Regions from separate parts of the Homo sapiens genome. Here region 1 is linked to region 2. Evidence: promoter capture Hi-C in 16 types of primary human blood cells and fetal thymus (Javierre and others, 2016). All regions are on one chromosome and are shown on one strand. Each heading gives the region's core, a stretch centred on a gene start or on the middle of the fragment in contact. The rest is flanking DNA. Distances are from core to core; before and after follow the strand shown.

Region 1 (2,700 bases), core at 48-2,547, 1.0 Mb before region 2:
TTTGCTAGAATACAAAATTTAAGAGTGGGCTTGTACATTTGTCCACCGTTGGATCCATCTTTGGTGCCTGGCATAAAAATAAATACCCGATAAATATTTGTTCAAGAAATACTTTATACGGGGTACGCTTATGACACTATTTCGCTTAACACTCACAAGTACTTTATATGTACAGCTATCCCCATTTTACAGATGAAACAAGGGAGTCTCGGAAAGTTTAAACAACTTGTCTGAAGCCATATGCAGCCAGGAAGTGCCAAAGTTGGGTTTCAAACCCAGGCCAAACTATTTCAGAGCTCTGCTCGTCCTCAAGTCGCTGCCTGAACCAATGGGGGAACCTTCTGCCCGGGTGGGGGGTGAACCACGGACCTGCCTTGCCCACGGCTTCCTGAGGTCGCTCTCTTTGTCTTGGAGAATGTACTTTACTAGCAACTCCCCTAAAACGGGGTATTCACAGGTGCTTTGACCAATTTCGGGGGACTGGCCTTGCCTCCAAGGAGGGGGCCCCAGATGGGACTCCCTCCCAACCCTCGCTCTGCTAGGCCTCAAGGAGGCCTCAACCGGCTCCTGGCTCTGGCCCCACGGCCAAGGCTGAACCCCAGCAACCCCCGGGAACTCGGGGTCTAGCCAAGCGGGGACACCACGACTTGCACCCACCGACCCGGTCCGTCCCACTTGGAAACACTCACCCGCGGGCAGAAAAAGCGCCCGCAGCTCCGGCTTCGCTTCCCTTTGTCCCGCGCTCGCCCCGCCCCTCGCGTCCGGAGCTTCCGCACTCGCACTTTCCACACTCTTCTTAATTTTTTTTTTTTTCCGGGCCCCACCCGACCCTCTTTAGAAAAACTAACCTTCTAGTGAAGATGCGGTGATGCTTAGCACACTCAGGGATTTTTTTCAGGACCCATTGGATCCTCAAAACTCCCCGAATTTTGATACTTTCCCAGCCGGGCGCTGATTCGTCACGGCGAAGAGGGCCGAGGAGGCCCGACCTAACACAGAATAGGCCTGGGTTTAGCGGCTGTGAGGAGCCGGAGCCGCCGCAGCGACCGAGGAAGTGGCGGGAGGTGCCGAGCCTTGCGGAGGGGCGGTGGGGGCCGCGGTGGGAGACGGCGGATGGCGCTCAGCGCGAGGCCGCGGAACCACTGTGGCAGCAAGCAGTTCGGCCAGACTCCCGCTGAGCCCGCTCCTGGAGGGGCCCTCCCCGACTCCGGTCTTGCTTTCCTTTAGGCTGTGGGTCAGAGTCTACACTTCACTAAACCTGGGATGGAGGCGTGGAGGACTTGCTTCGCGGCGTTTGCGTCCTCGCAGGCGCCTCGCAGGGCTTCCTGCCCTCACGGCGGGGGAGTAGCTTTGGCGAAAATCAGCACGAGTTCTGCAGTTTTTCCAAGCGCTTTTAGGGTGTAATCGTCCCAGGTTTCTAAGCCAAGGCCCGGAGAGTTGACCCCCTCGCAACAGCTTGTGTGTCCTTGCAGCGCCGCGGGTGCCACCTGGTCTCCGCCTCAGCGCTGCCTCGGCTCCTTCGGTTCCCACCAGCGGGAACGACCGTCCCCACTTTCAGCTTAAACTCATCTGTCCTTCTGGATCCAGCTCAGAGGTCTCTTTGTGATGCCCTCCTGGAACTTCCCCCCTAGTAATCCTTCCTTTGTATTCCCGTGGCTCTTTGATAATAATGGTTGGAGTCCTGAACCCGACCCTTTGTATCGGACCGTGTTTGTCATCTCCAGTGCTTTATGAAGGCCTTGAAAGCAAGGTTCAGCCGTCTGTATTGGTCATCTTCCCATTGCCAGTGCCTACGAAGGGCTTGACCCATTCATTGTTAGACGCTCAGTAAGTGTGTATTGAGGCAGCCCTCTGTGCCACTCCAGGGCTCTTTCCACTAAATCATGAGTATGTTGGTTTACCAGATGGAATGAGTAGCCTCTTCTTTGGATACATAAACACCCGATGGATATTGTGGGTCACTGTGGAGGGAGAATGAACGTATGGGATCCCTGACCTGTGGTTACTGGAAAACAGTTGACATTTAGAGAGAGGCTGAATTCTTGGGCTTCCCGTAGCCCCCATCCTGAGTGTGCCAACAGGGACTAGAAGCATCTCTAGTCTGCAAAGCGAGGAACAAGTGATACTCTGTCCAATTTTTCCAATATTGTTATACTCATGAATAGAGATTAATGAAATTGAAGAGCATATTCAAGAGAAAGACTAAAGGAGAAGTCGTCTGCCCCGTGGACAGGCAGCTTGAGTGGTGCTTGAGAAAATGTACATGAAATTGCTTGTTAAAAAATATTCACGCCTGTAATCCCAGCTCTTTTGGGAGGCCGAGGCGGGCAGATTACTAGGTCAGGAGATCGAGACCATCCTGGCTAACACGGTGAAACCCCGTCCCTACTAAAAATACAAAAACAAAATTAGCCGGGCGTGGCGGCGGGCGCCTGTGGTCCCAGCTATTGGGGAGGCTGAGGCAGGAGAATGGCGTGAACCCGGGAGGCGGAGCTTGCAGTGAACGGAGATGGCGCCACTGCACTCCAGCCTGGGCGAGAGAGCGAGACTCTGTCTCAAAAAAAAAAAAATTATATATATATATATGTATATATCCATCAGAGACATGTAAAGGATTAAAGTACGATACACAAAGGCCTCAGAAGGGATTTCAGTACATTCTTTTTCTGGCTTCGTCCAGCAACTCCAGCCTGGTTTCTT
Region 2 (2,700 bases), core at 83-2,582:
CCTGAGGTCAGGAGTTCAAGACCAGCCTGGCCAACATGGTGAAAACCCATCTCTACTAAAAATATTTTTAAAAAACTAGCCGGGCGTGGTGGTGGATGCCTGTAACCCCAACTACTCGGGAGGCTGAGGCAGAAGAATTGCTTGAACCCAGGAGACGGAGGTTACAGTGAGCCGACACAGTGCCACTGCACTCCAGCCTCGGCGACAAAGTGAGACTCTGTCTCAAAAAAAAAATCAATTTATTGGCAATATTTAAAAATCAAGAGATTTTATGTAAACACCTGGATTTCCTGGCACTCTTGAAAAAGATCTAGCACAATGGGCTGGAGGTGAGCGGCCACTGCAGCCCGTAGTTCTTACTCCAGCCCCCAGTCCACCCCATTACATCACACTTGGCTGTTTGCACTCCTTGATCCTACTTACCTGCCTATCCCCGGAGGCCTTTGAGTCTAAAATTCCTGGTCTCTTTTCACCACTCTACTTACCCCTACAACTGAGTGTTGAAATAAATAAACTGAAAGCAAGAAAGGTTGACTGTTTTGAAGGAAATATTTCATCTAAACTCTAGGAAGGCTCTACTCCACACAAGCTGTGCCACATGAAGGACGCCCTCTGGTGCCAGAATTATTCTCGGGGGGGCCCAGAACCAGTTACTATACCTTGAACTCATGCCAATGAGCTGGGCACACTTTTTCCTTAGATGGATTAATCTAATCTAAATGAAAATTTTAGATCGGATTAACCCACTTTAGAATAAATCTAAATGGCAATCTAAATTATGCGGTTACCGTTTTGATTATATTATTGTATGTTGATTAATCAAAGTGCCGCCCTAAATCCCGCTGTGACTCCGTGGGTAGTAGGGTGGGTAGGTAGGTGGGTTTGACACAACGGGGATTTCTCGTGTTTGGGAGGCTCATCATCTAAATCCTCTCTAAGGAGTGTTCATTTACCATATGAAACTCCCCTTTTCGAGAAGACAGGGATGCAACAGGGTCAAGAAGGTGGAACGTACCAAAGGACACAGTGCGTAGGCGCGCTCGAAACCTGGGCCGGTATTCTCGGCACCCAGACACCGTCCACTCGCACTGCGCAGGCTCCGAGACAGATCAAGCTTTCCCTCCCCCTCCCAGCTCTCCTAGAGTCAAGAGGACGCCCTCCTGCCGCAGACTTCCTGCGCAAGCGCCATCCCATGTCCCCGCCTCCAAACCAATTGGAAGCGGCGCCGCCTGGGCGCTTGGGGCACGACGCTGTGGGTGGGGTCAGGACGTGAGGGCAGCGCGCTGGCGTCAGAGGCGCGGCTATATAACTAAACACAGGCACCGCCCCTCTGCCCCAGTCACTGAGCCGCCGCCGAGGATTCAGCAGCCTCCCCCTTGAGCCCCCTCGCTTCCCGACGTTCCGTTCCCCCCTGCCCGCCTTCTCCCGCCACCGCCGCCGCCGCCTTCCGCAGGCCGTTTCCACCGAGGAAAAGGAATCGTATCGTATGTCCGCTATCCAGAACCTCCACTCTTTCGGTAAGCTATGGGAAAGGTCGCGGGCCCGGGTGGGGCAGCGGGGCCTTCCGGGCCCGGAGACGTGTTCCGGGAAGTTGCCAAGCGCTCCGGGCCTTCGTAAGCTCGGGCAGGGGAAACTTGACCAGGGTCGCAGGGCAGCGGGATCAAGGCCTGGGCCCCGGGGTCGGACCCTGAGCGCGACCGGAAGGAGCAGGCGGTAGGTCAGCCCTTGGGCGGGCCCGGCGTCTCAGTGGCGCATTTACTAATGGCTCCTGGGCCTCCTCGGGCCACACCCGCCCCTCCCGTCACCATTGCGTCACGTCCGTTACGTCACCACCCGTTGTCACGGATCCGGAGGGAAAGGCGGTGCCAGCCCTAAGTGGCAAGCGGGTGCACCAATGGGGGTGGGAGGCTTAGCCCCGCCTCGGGAGCTCGGGTTCCGGCGGGTTGCATCAGCTGGGTGGGGCACCGCCTGGCAGCCCGGACTCCCCCGACATGTGATCGGCTTCCCAGGGAGGGCGGGAGGCCCGGGCGTTCCCCGAGCCTGGGGAAGCTGGCCGTCCCGGACTGACCTGCTCGGGGAGAGCCAGCAAAGGACACATTCGGCCTGGCCCAAGCCCTGACGATTTCAGTGTTGTTTTCTGCACGCGCAAAACACCTGGGGACCGAGGGGATGGCAGTGGCATCCTATCTTTGACAGCTCTGAACGAGCTTAACCTTTTTTTTCAGACCCCTTTGCTGATGCAAGTAAGGGTGATGACCTGCTTCCTGCTGGCACTGAGGATTATATCCATATAAGAATTCAACAGAGAAACGGCAGGAAGACCCTTACTACTGTCCAAGGGATCGCTGATGATTACGATAAAAAGAAACTAGTGAAGGCGTTTAAGAAAGTAGGTCTTCAGTGAGATTTTGGGAAAGTCATAATGGATTTGTCCACAAGGGGGTGCCAGCTGTGTTGTATGTATTGTTAGCGGAAGGGGTGATAAATGCGTTCATGCTCTTGCTAGGCCTAATTCGTTTTCCTTTGTGCTTGCAGAAGTTTGCCTGCAATGGTACTGTAATTGAGCATCCGGAATATGGAGAAGTAATTCAGCTACAGGGTGACCAACGCAAGAACATATGCCAGTTCCTCGTAGAGGTGAGTTCAGTCACTACTTGATTTGTGCCTCTCTGCTGGCAAATCTCAGATCCTGTCTGTTAG

Evidence for each region. The method cuts DNA at HindIII sites, captures the fragments that hold promoters and counts their contacts. A CHiCAGO score of 5 or more calls a contact.
Region 1: a contact is called between a fragment that was not itself captured here and the fragment with the promoter of EIF1 in region 2, in 1 of 17 cell types (non-activated CD4 T cells). The highest score is 5.1, in non-activated CD4 T cells.

Annotation. Positions count from the first base shown.
Region 1 is chr17:40,647,084-40,649,783 of GRCh38, forward strand. It overlaps SMARCE1 (SWI/SNF related BAF chromatin remodeling complex subunit E1), which reads right to left and starts at 735. Exons shown (of 11, transcript NM_003079.5): 1 at 690-735. RefSeq lists a silencer at 974-1,268. The HindIII fragment of the contact is 6,478 bases long and covers 1-2,700 here.
Region 2 is chr17:41,687,553-41,690,252 of GRCh38, forward strand. EIF1 (eukaryotic translation initiation factor 1) reads left to right here and starts at 1,333. Exons shown (of 4, transcript NM_005801.4): 1 at 1,333-1,517; 2 at 2,226-2,389; 3 at 2,536-2,637. The coding sequence starts at 1,487. RefSeq lists enhancers at 1,034-1,942, 1,928-2,017, 1,943-2,700 and a silencer at 1,158-1,547. The HindIII fragment of the contact is 2,180 bases long and covers 1,113-2,700 here.